Regions from separate parts of the Homo sapiens genome. Here regions 1 and 2 are each linked to region 3. The links are contacts of gene promoters, found by promoter capture Hi-C in blood cells and fetal thymus (Javierre and others, 2016). All regions are on one chromosome and are shown on one strand. Each heading gives the region's core, a stretch centred on a gene start or on the middle of the fragment in contact. The rest is flanking DNA. Distances are from core to core; before and after follow the strand shown.

Region 1 (3,805 bases), core at 666-3,165, 330 kb after region 3:
AACAACCTGTGTCACACCTGGGCAGAAGCTTTAAAGGCCAGTGCTGCCCTTGTTGGGGAAGCAAGTATAGATATGAATCGTTCCACAACGCGGAGCGCCCCCTGCCGACCCATGCTGGGCGTGTACTATAGGTGAGCAATTAACTTTGCTGTTCAAACCATTGAGACTTAGGGGTTTTTTTGTGGTTGCAAGCTAACTTCACTTCACTTGACTGAACACAGTCTTTCCAAAGTTTCACTAATTTTTTAATGACCATTATGATTTTTTCATATCTGTAACATTTTTCTTACATCAACTCACTTCTTTTTACTTCAATTTATTTTAGAAAGAAATATTATTACTACCAAATGAAACAGTATCATAAGTAGAAAGCAATGAGAAAATAAACAGAATGAAAGAAATCCTGATATCAAATCCTGACTTAATACTATTTGCCTTTCAAAGCCTCTGGACCTTTGGTCTTTATTTAAAAAAAAAAAAAAAAAAAAAAAAAAGGAGCCAGGGGCCAGGCGTGATGGCTCACACCTGTAATCCCAGGAATTTGGGAGGCCGAGGTGGGAAGATCACCTGAGGTCAGGAGTTCGAGACCAGCCTGACCAATATGAGGAAACCCCATCTCTACTAAAAATACAAAAATTAGCCGGGTGTGGTGGCATGTGCCTGTAATCCCAGCTACTCAGGAGGCTGAGACAGGAGAATTGCTTGAACCTGGGAGGCGGAGGTTGCAGTGAGCCGAGATCGCTCCATTGCACTCCAGCCTGGGCAACAAGAGTGAAACTCCGTCTTAAAAAAAAAATGGGAGCCAGGTGCGGTGGCTCATGCCTGTAATCCCAGCAGTTTGGGGGGCTGAGGTGGGCAGATCACTTGAGGTCAGGAGTTCAAGACCACCCTAGCCAACATGGTGATATCCTGTCTCTACTTAAAATGCAAAAATTAGCTGGGCATGATGGCATGTGCCTGTAATATCCCAGCCTCTTGGGAGGCTGAGGCAGGAGAATCACTTGAACCCAGGAGGCGGAGGTTGCAGTGAGCTGAGATTGTACCACTGCACTCCAGCCTGGGGGAGAGAGTTGAGACTCCGTATTTAAAAAAAAAAAAAAAAAAGAGGTCCCCAAGAGTACTTCTCAATCTTTTGGATCCCCAAAGCTGTCTAAGATTGTCAGAATATTTGAAGGCAGCACAGTATTGAGGCTGAGTGTACCAATTCTGGAACTTGACATCCTGGGCTTAAATTCTGGTTCAGTCATGGACTAGCTGTGTGACCCTGGACAAGTTACTGAACTGCTCTGTGACTGTTTTCTTATTTGCAAAATAGTGACCATAATGATGTGTATGGCATTAGGTCGTGGTGGGGATTATTTGTGTTAATGTATAAAAAGGGCTTAGAAGTGTGCCTGGCACTTAGTGAGTGCTATGGAGGCATTACCTATAAAATGATGGCAGGATCCAGATCCAAATAGATTTGGTGAATTATTGTTTGTTTTTTTTGAGACAGGGTCTCTGTCACTCAGGCTGGAGTGCAGTGGCGCCATCACAGCTCACTGCAGCCTCCAAGTCTCCAGGCTCAGATGATCCTCCTACCTCAGCCTCCAGAGTAGCTGGGACTACATGTGTGGACCACCACCCCTGGCTAATTTTTCTATATTTTGTAGATATGGGATTTCACCATGTTGCCCAGGCTGGTCTGGAACTCTTGGGTTCAAGCAATCTGCCCCTTCTTAGTCTTCAAAGTGTTGGGATTACAGACGTGAGTCACCCCACCCAGCCTGGAGAAATGTTTGAACTCCATGGAGATAAGTAAAAAATCCTCTGCATTGGTTAAAAATAAATCACCTGGATGATTTATTTATTTAGTGTAGATGGGAAAAGCTACCTTAGCAGAAAGTGACATAGCAAAATTCTAGAGGTTTTACTTGGTGGCAGCTGCCCAAACCTCTAACCCAGTCGTATGTATCATTAGAGAGAATGTAGTTCCCAGGTCAGAGGAGCTAAGAGGTCCTTGGCATTCTACTCCTAAGGAGCATATATGGACAATTGTGTTTAGTTTTCATTTTAATATGAATACTTAAAATTTTCCTAGGATGGCAGAGGATGAGAAAGCTATGCCCCTTAGGCCGAGTGCAGCGGCATGGCTCATGCCTGTAATCCTGGCGCTTTGGGAGGCCAAGGCGGGCGGATCACGAGGTCAAGAGATCGAGATCATGTTGGCCAACATGGTGAAACTCCATCTCTACTAAAAATACAAAAATTAGCCTTGCGTAGTGGTACGCACCTGTAGTCCCAGCTACTTGGGAGGCTGAGGCAGGAGAATTGCTTGAACCTGGGAGGCGGAGGGTGCAGTGAGCCGAGATCTCGCCACCGCACTCTAGCCCGGCAGCAGAGCGAGAGTTCGTCTCAAAAAAAAAAAAGAAAGAAAGAAAGAAAGAAAGCTATGCCCCTTGAAGAATAATCAAAGATCCAAAAGAGTTTTGGGCTGGGTATTGGAGAAGAGGAGAGAAAGGTGGTGTAGCAGAGTGGTCAGGGCCATTGCCTTTGAAATATCAGTGGTGCCATTTACATAGCTGTTGGACCTTGCTAAAATCATAAGCTCTTCAAGCCTTATTTGCTTCATCTATAAAATAGGAATCAATGATAGGACCTTTTCATAGATTGCTTTGTGGAGTAAATGTGTTAAACCTTATAAACCTGGCAGGTAGCTGCCCAGCATATAGTTGCGTTATTTACTCAATTCAAAGTACTTTCCTGCCGGGTGCGGTGGCTCAGGCCTGTAATCCCAGCACTTTGGGAGGCTGAGGTGGGTGGATCACTTGAGGTCAGGAGTTCCAGACCAGCCTGACCAACATGGTGAAACCCTGTCTCTACTAAAAACACAAAAATTAGCCGGGCGTGGTGGCAGTCACCTGTAATCCCAGCTACTTGGGAGGCTGAGGCACAAGAATCACTTGAACCTGGGAGGCAGAGGTTGCAATGAGCTGAGATCGTGCCGCTGCACGCCATCCTGGGTGATAGATTGAGACTCAGTCTCAAAAAAAAGGCAACAAAGTACTTTCCTTTGGAAAAGAGTGCCCACTGGCTGGGTGAAGTGGCTCACGCCTGTAATCTCAGCACTTGTGGGGCTGAGGCAGGCAGATCAGTTGAAGCCAGGAGTTTGAGACCAGTTTCACGTGGCCAACATGGTGAAACCCCGTCTACTAAAAATACAAAAATAAGCCAGATGTGGTGTCATGTGCCTGTAGTCCCAGCTACTCAGGAGAGTGAGACAGGAGAATCATTTGAACCCTGGAGTTGGAGGTTGCAGTGAGCAGAGATCGTGCCACTGCACTCCAGCCTGGGTGACAGAGTAAAACTCTGTCTCAAAAAAAAAAAAAAAAAAAGCTCTCACTGATTCCTACAGCTTCAGAGAATGAACGAGGACCAAAATGTGGATGCTACAGGGAGGAAACTTGAGGCTCAAAATGGAGATCTTTCTATAAAATACAATTGTTCTACCACAGGAAAAGCTGCTTTATTAAGTAGTGAGTATTCCGTCATTGGAAGTATTAAGCCCAAGCTAAATGGTCAACTGTCAGGGAAGGATGGTGAGAGGATTCCAGTGGGTTAGAGGTCAAAGAGCGTCTACCAGGTGCAAAAGTCTTAATTAACAAAGTACTATCAAAACCAAATTCATGTTTGGGAAACTGTATATCCACATGCAAAAGAATGAAATCAGACTCTTTCCTTACACCATATACGAAAATTAACTAAAAATGAGTTTGACGGAAAAGTATAAAACCTTTGGAATAAAACATAAGGGAAAAGCTTCATG
Region 2 (3,958 bases), core at 545-3,044, 500 kb after region 3:
TGGTGCTGCCAAGGAAAAAAAAAAAGCAGGACAAGAGTTCAGGTGCAAGTGTCTACCCTCCTCGAAGGAAAACTCCTATGTAGGACTAAGAAGCATCTGGACAGGTTTGGGGGACAGTAGGATCCCACTTTCCCAAGCACAGCCCAGGGAGAGATGCCCCCCACTGACCACGTGACAGCACTAAGCTGGCACCGAAGCTGTGGTAACAGCAGCCCGTTGTCCCCTTGACCTGTGGGTGCCATGTAGGTGGTAATCCAGATGTGTCCACATGTCCCAGTGATGTGCTAAGTGGACTGAGGGACAAAGAGAGGCCAGGTGACAAGCTGCGAGGGTTGTGGCACATGAGGACCTCATGGCTACAGACAGGCAATTTTCTAAGCAGGTCCGTGTACTGCTCAGGAACTAAATCAGGTTCACCCCATTTTGGTAGGTTCCACCATAATCCGTAATGCCCGGGGACAAATTCCGAGCGACCACGTGGGAGTGAAGACCAGCAACAGGCAGGGAATGGCATCTGAGCCATAAAGCTTACCCACTGCCCCCTTATACCCAGATGCCACGCCGGGAGGATGGGAGCACACAGGAGAGAGGAGGATCCTGAACACTGAATATCTGTGCAAAACAGAGCGCTGTAAACCAGAAGAGAAGGAAATATCCCCTCAAGTTGGGAGAATGGAAGTTTGAGATGAAAATGAGATTAGATGAAAATACAGGGCTGGGTGTGGTGGCTCGTGCCTGTAATCCTAGCACTTTGGGAGGTCCAGGCGGGCAGATCACTTGAGGTCAGGGTTCGAGACCAGCCTGGCCAACATAGTAAAACACCCGTCTCTGCTAAAAATGCAAAAATTAGCCAGGAATGGTGGCGCATGCCTGCGGTCCCGGTTACTCGGGAGGCTGAGGCAGGAGGATAGCTTGAACCTGGGAGGTGGAAGTTACAGTGAGCCGAGATCGTGCCACTGCACTCCAGCCTGGGCGACAGAGCGAGACGCCATCTCAAAAAAAAAAAAAGAAAAGAAAAAGAAAAAATACAAAGGAAGTTACAGTTTTTGCCCCTGTGAGTAGGAGTGGGTCAAATATGACCCTGCCATGAAAGCCAATCAGTTTCTTTCCTGGGAATTTGAATCTTGTACGGAGAGATGTATCAGGAACAAAGATGTGTGGAACTGAATCGCCTGAGGCAATGCTCAGAGATTCCTGGCACCTGGGAAGGGCTCGGTCTGGCTCCCAGGCTGATAAGGCCTAGCTGTTTAGCTTTTCCTTTTGTTGAGTGAGCTTTCTGACATTCTTCTAGTGGATTCCTTTTTCACTCGAGCAAGTCAGATTTGTTTTCCATATTCTCCAACCCGGCATCATCCTGGAAGTGAATGTGAGATGAGAAGACAGCCAAGGCATGGCCCCTGAGGGTCAGCAGACCGGCAAGAAAAGAGGAGCCTGCAGAGGAGATAGAAAAGGTGAGGCTGAGAGGGTGCCCCTGTGAGCAGTGGCCACAGGGACTGAAAGGAGAGCGAGTGGAGGAGGCGGCTGTGTTCAGCGTCAGGCAGGGCTCAAAACTCAAGCAACATGAGAATGAGACTAGGGCCACTGTATTCAGCAACAAGGAGGTTATCCATGACCTTGGCAAGGAACGTTTTGGTGAGATAGAAGTCTGGTTGCAGTAGATTGAAGAAAGGGTGGTGAGACAGAGACACAGAGACACACACACACACACACACACACACACACAGAGAGAGAAGGGGGGTGGGTGGAGAGGGGAAGAAGTACAGCCACTGAGAGAGAGAGAGAGACAGAGAGAGACCGACCCAGAGAGAGAGAGAAGGGGGGTGGGTGGAGAGGGGAAGAAGTAGAGCCACTGGCTAAGGCTCCAACAGGGAGAAAAGGACAGGAGCTCTGTGGGGAACCTGGGTAGAAGGGGGCTTTGTGGGTTTGGGGTTTGCTTTTTTTGTTTTTGGTTTTACTATGACAGAAGACATGATGTGTGTTTGCATATACAGAAGAAAGTGAGTTTCCTGAGAAGGGAGGAGAGCTGGGATTGGTTTTAGCTAGGAGGAGGGAAAGGAGAAAGGATGGCTATAGAGACAGGCAAAGATAAGGGATGGAGAGCAAGATTTCATATCTATTGGTTTCTGAAAACACAGATATACTTTTCTGGTGAAAACTTCTCTTCTCCCCCTCAGGCAGAGTTAGATGCTCATGAATACATAAGCTGAAAATGAAATACTTTGAAAAATGATAGCTAGCTGAGTGTCAACACTTGAGGGGCAAGATTGGTTTTGAGCATATGGAGGGTAAAGAAAGAATTCTTGAGAGTTAGGCTGAGCCAGGAAACTGCAATACACTTTCCTGAACTGTGTTCAAATGTGGAGTAAGCTGAAGACTCTCACCAAGACACAGCTCAGTTCAAACTGAAAAACCAAACCCACCTATTCTTTAATTGGGCAGATATAATAATTTATGAATTCCTAAAGGCTTAGCTCAGCAGCTTTAGAGCAGGAACTCTAAACTTTGTTTTGTTTTGCACAGGTTATACACTGACATGATTCAAAAATCAGAACACAAGGTATACACTCAGAAGCCCGGCCCCTCCTGCTGGCCCCCAACCACTTCCTGAAACACTTCTTAGTTACTTGTCTAGCTTATCAGTTTTTCTTTATGAAGATAGAAGCAATACAAACATATATTCTTAGCTGTACGTCGTGCTTTTTTTCACCTATATCTTAGAGATCTTTCCTCAGCGCACACACAGCTTCCTCAAACTTTTTCCCAGTTATATAGTATTTTGCTTTGTGGATGCACCAGTCCTGTACATACACTTCAGTTGTTTCTGATCTTTTGCTATTGCAGCCAATGTTGCAATGGATCATCTTTTACATAAATTATTACATATAGGTACAAATGTCATCTACAGGGTAGACTCTTAGACTTGTAATTTTGGTAGATATTGCCCAAATCAACAGGGCTGTCAATTTCACAATCCCACTGGTAATGTATTAAAAGTCCTGCTATTTATTCTCCCGACTCCCCCACCTCCAGCCCCATCCACAGGGCATGCTGTCAAGCTTTGGGATTTCTGCCAATCTGACAGGTTAAAAATGGTATCTCCGCATACTTTTTATAAGCACTTCTCTTTGAAGATTGAGATTGAGCATTTTTTCATAAGTTTAAGTGCTATTTGTATTTCTTTTGCTGTGAACCGTCTGCTCATGTCCTTTGCTCACTTTCTCTATTCGGCTGCTGCAGGAGAAGTCCTTAACCAGTGGTCTGTGGCTTTCTCGGAGGAAGGGAGGGAGGGCTGTCTTGTGACTCAGATAAGGTTAAGAATTGTAGGGAAAAAAACCGCTCACCCTAACCTGATACCTATTTTGTGGTATACATAGAGATGTTTAAGTTTTAAAAACTTTTAACTGAAGTTTAGTTATACGCACAGAAAAATGTACATATACCACATTATAGCACACACTCCTATAACCAACATCGGGTCAAAGAACAATATTACCAGCACCCCAAAAGCCCCTCTCAACACTCCCTTCCAATCCTTACCACATGGAGATTCTTTCTTCTGCAGCTTTATTTCTTGATTCTATTCTAAAGGCAAGTGATCCACAAATCCCGGGTCTTCCACAGTTTTGAAGCCACAGTGAAGGGCTTCACCAACGGTAAGGAAAGAGGCCCTGCAGTCCTAGGGCTCCCTCTGCTGGTGATCAGCAGCTACCAGGAAAAGCTGCCCCTCCCCTCCTGGAGCTCTGAGGATTGACTGGAGTCTTGGAAATCAAATTGGTGCAGGCTTAATGGGAATCGGCACACAGGCGCATGGCTGAGGCATCAGAGTCCTCCTTTACCTCCTTTACTCTCCATCCTGTTAACATTTCGGGAAAGCAACTATCAAAACAATAGACCACAGTAGCTTGGGGGCTATGAAGAGAATGACAAGAAAGAGCGGCGAATTCCCGCTTCCCAACCC
Region 3 (3,876 bases), core at 1,166-3,665:
AGGCCTCAGCCTCCCAAGTAGCTAGGATTACAGGTGCATGCCACCATGCCCAGCTAATTTTTTGTATTTTTAGTAGAGACGGGGTTTCACCATGCTGGCCAGGCTGGTCTCAAACTCCTGACCTCATGATCCACCCACCTCGGCCTCCCAAAGTGCTGGGATTACAGGCATGAGCCACCACGCCCAGCCCGAATCTGCATTTTCATAAATCCACAGGTGATTCACATAGAAACGGTCTAGGCTTTTGGGTTCCCTTCTAAGTCAGAGGTTCAGCTCCCTTGGCTTGTGGGCAATGGAGGGAGGACTGTCAGAAATGACTCTCAGGTCCCTCCCACCTGAAAACAGGAGTGCCAGGAAATAGACCAGCAGCTGTGCACCTTGGCTCCCACTGTGGACCCCTCTACTGGCCATGCTTGTCAGGGGGCAGGACTCTGTAGGCCCCGATACCCAGGAGAGGCTATTAATGATATCAACTATTCTAGTGTACAATTATCTCATGTGATACCATATGTATGTCATGTGCCAAGTGCTGTTGTCTCATTTACCCCTCCAATGTGAGGTGCCATCATTATGCCCATTTTAAAGATGAGAAAACTGGAGCTCAAACCGTGTAGTAACACAGCCAGTAAGAGACAGAATCAGGATTGACATCCAAGTTCAAGTTGACATCCAAGGCCCAAACTCAAGTTGTCCCATTGTGCCTCAGTTTCCCCAGGGCCTTGCTGTGATATCTGGTGGTGGGGGGCAAGGCTCATGATATCTGGGGCAGGAGTACTGGGCATGGAGTTTTTTGGGCAAGAGTTGAGATTCAAGTTCTGCCAGTGACTTGCTACGTGACTGAACATGTGGACAAACGGCTTTGGAAGGTGGAGGTGAAGCTCAGTTTTCTCCTCTGTAAACTGGAGTAGAGACAACCTGTTTCTGAGTGATGATGGAGATTAAATGAGGTTCTGGCCAGTCCTTGATCAATGTGATTTTGCTTGTGTCCAGGTGTCTGCCTCCTGCCCCGGTCCACAGCCAGGAGCCCCGGAGCCAACGGCCAGCCTGGAAGACTTACAGTTCTCCCTCTGAGGGTTGCTGTGGCTTTCCATGTTGTGGTGACTAAGTCCCTGTGTTTCTGTGCAGTCCCTGCTTCCTGGGACCAGGGAAGAATGGTCCCGTAAGTCTCACCCTAATGGCAAGTCTAGGACAGCTTTACTTTGTTCTCGTATAATCCTGGGCCCCTTCTCCCTCCTAGAGCCCCAAGTCCCCTATTCCAACTACCCAAGCCACCCACACTGGCATCATGCCCTACCCATCCCCTTTGGAAGAACAAACAGCAGGACAGGATGCCAGCGTGGTTCTCAGGCTTCCCAGGCACGAAGACTTGGAGCCTGAGGGAGAGAAGCTCCTGCCCGTGCTCCTCAAAGGAGCGTGAAAATACAGTGAGATCGTGGCTTGTGGTGGGGCCGATTCCATGGCTCTGGGAACTCAGCATTTGCCGAGGGGATGACAAGGCTTAGCAGCTGTGGCCTTGGTCCAGTTTGGGCTTGGGGAGGCACAGACTGGAGTGCTTCTCCCCCTACATCCATGTCATTCTGGGCTCCACCATGGCTCTCCTCTATTGCTCTGACCTTTCTTTGCTGTGTGGCTTTGGGCAAGTTGCTTACCCTTTCTGAGCCTCACTTGACTGAAAACTGGGGTTGCAAGTTGCTTACCCTTTCTGAGCCTCACTTAACTGAAAATTCCTTATGGGATTGTTGTGCATGTTAGACAAGGTAGATGTCCCACAGGCTCTTTGGTGAATGTCCCATGCAGCATTCAGGGATAAGGCCATTACTCCACAGAGGTGTCTCCTGTTCCCCTCTAGCTAGGGCGGGCGGGTCACTCACTGCCTAAGAGTCCAACAGCATTGATGCCCTTGCAGAATGAACCTTCCAATCAGCTAGGCATCCATCCAAATGCTGGCTCAGAGTTAGGCCAAGCATGTCATGTCTTGAGTGCCCCCATTCATAATGAGGATACATTAAAGTCCTCTTCAATTTGCCTGGTAAGTTTGATGAATGATCATGAATGGTCTTCACAGAGGCCTCACAAACTGTATACCCTTCACCTGGGAAGATGCTGAGGCCCAGAGAAGGCAAGACACATATCTGAGGTCACACAGCAGGGCTGGCCGGAGGCAGCTCTGAGTTCCAGGGAGAGAAGCCCTGCTTAGGCATGGGGGCCAGACTGTGCCCAATGTGGGGCCCTGGAGGAATTCTGCCAAGGGGGTCCTTGGCTGCGATTTTACATCCCCACCCCCTCCACACCCAAATAGTCAGCAGTGCATTCCAGGGCCCGGGCCTCCTTACCTTTGAGAGGAGGCAGAGGAGGGAGAAGGCCAGGAGGTGGGTCTTCGGTGTGCCTCTCATGTCCCCTGCAGAGCCAGCTTTGAGCCTGGGAGGCGGACCTGTGAGTCTTTATGTTCCGGCAGCTGTGAGGTCACTCCCAGGCACACACAGGCACACGCACGAGTACACACGCGCGCGCGCGCGCGCGCTCACACACACACACACACACACACACACACACAAACACACTAGCTTTTTCATTCCTTGCTTCGCTTCCCATCCTCATGGCTCAAAGGATGAGCCCATTTACCTGAAGGTGAAACTGTGAAGGCCACCAAGGGGGTGCCTGTCCGTGTGTGTGTGTGTGTGTGTGTGCGCGTGTGTGTGTGTGAAAGCCTGAGCCAGTGCCAGCACCAAGAGCCTGTGACAGCTTGCAGAGGCCTCTCCAGCTCCTTCCAGCCCAAGAGGGTCCTAGCCCTGCTGTAGTTGTGAAGCCCTATTCCAGACCCCCTGTCCGAACCCCAGCGGGGCTGCAGATACCAGAAGCATTCAGTAAACAACCCCTTTGCAGAGCTGACCCAAGGTCTCCTAAGCTCCGTGGCCCTGACTCTGGGTAGCCGCGGCCCAGCCTGCGGTTTCTGGCAGGCAGATTGGCAGCCACCCAGAGGTGGGTGTGACCCAGAGCAAAACTTCCCTGGGCGGCCTGTTTGCTCTTGGCAATAAGGGGCCTCCCTTGGCCTGCCTCCCGGCTCTGGAAGGGGGCCCGTGGTGGGCGAGTCCGGGCAGGCTGGACCTACTATGTGCCAGCGCTTGCTGGGCACCGCTAGATGATGGGGTCAAGCCAAATCCATTTGGTTTCATTCGGCCGCCTCTGAGTTCGCCTCTGCAGGAGCTGGAGGCACAACACTGACCTGAGGACAAGGCCCAGAGAGGGAGAAAACAGAGGGAAAACAGGTGGAAGTTCAGGAATACCAGGCAAGGTCCCTTGCTCAGACCAAGAGTGAGGGACACTTTCTGATGGAGGTGCCATTTCAGAAAGCCAAGAAAAGAGAGGGTGAGAGAGGGCAGAATGTTCCAGGCCAAGGGAACAGTACGTACCAACGCCTAGATGTCGGACATAGCATGATAGCCTGCTTATTCTGGGAGCCAAAGCGCCTGGTATGAGTGGAGCCTTCTGTGCAACGGGAAATGGTGATGTCTGTGAAGGGTGAGACACACAAGTTCACATCACCAAGATTTGGGGACATCTACTATGTGCCAGCCATGGGGGCGGGGGACAGAAAGACATGGGCTTTGTTTGTAGAATTTGGCAAAGATAAAAGAGGTGATGTCAAGGGCTGTCTGGGGCCCCCATTACCTCCACCAGTAGTTGTCCAAACCTCAAAGTGATCTAGCTGGATAGCAGAGGTTCCAGAATGGGCGATTGGTGAGGAAGAAGTGTGACTTGATATAGTGGCAAGACGGGGATTGTGAGCATGGAGGAGATTCCCCACGGGTGCTGTCCCATCGGAAGAGGCAATGGAAACGGAAGGTGAAGATGAAAGTGTGGGATTTGATTATTTAT

The links. The method cuts DNA at HindIII sites, captures the fragments that hold promoters and counts their contacts. A CHiCAGO score of 5 or more calls a contact.
Region 1: a contact is called between a fragment that was not itself captured here and the fragment with the promoter of CCN5 in region 3, in 6 of 17 cell types (total CD8 T cells, naive CD8 T cells, fetal thymus and 3 more). The highest score is 10.9, in total CD8 T cells.
Region 2: a fragment that was not itself captured here is called in contact with the fragment with the promoter of CCN5 in region 3 in 4 of 17 cell types (naive CD8 T cells, monocytes, fetal thymus and 1 more); the score reaches 7.3 in naive CD8 T cells.

The regions. Positions count from the first base shown.
Region 1 is chr20:44,380,849-44,384,653 of GRCh38, reverse strand. All of the region lies in intron 1 of HNF4A (hepatocyte nuclear factor 4 alpha), which reads right to left. It overlaps HNF4A-AS1 (HNF4A antisense RNA 1), which reads left to right. Exons shown (of 3, transcript NR_172878.1): 2 at 1-131. Among named protein-coding and RNA genes, the nearest start is that of HNF4A-AS1, 13 kb to the left of the region's middle. The HindIII fragment of the contact is 3,770 bases long and covers 31-3,800 here.
Region 2 is chr20:44,217,262-44,221,219 of GRCh38, reverse strand. All of the region lies in intron 2 of OSER1-DT (OSER1 divergent transcript), which reads right to left. Among named protein-coding and RNA genes, the nearest start is that of OSER1-DT, 8.3 kb to the right of the region's middle. The HindIII fragment of the contact is 2,529 bases long and covers 530-3,058 here.
Region 3 is chr20:44,713,908-44,717,783 of GRCh38, reverse strand. CCN5 (cellular communication network factor 5) reads right to left here and starts at 2,415. Exons shown (of 4, transcript NM_003881.4): 1 at 2,334-2,415. The coding sequence starts at 2,393. It overlaps KCNK15-AS1 (KCNK15 and WISP2 antisense RNA 1), which reads left to right. Exons shown (of 5, transcript NR_132377.1): 4 at 991-1,159. It overlaps LOC124904911 (a long non-coding RNA gene), which reads left to right and starts at 3,010. Exons shown (of 2, transcript XR_007067598.1): 1 at 3,010-3,843. RefSeq lists a silencer at 2,822-3,116. The HindIII fragment of the contact is 18,609 bases long and covers 1-3,876 here.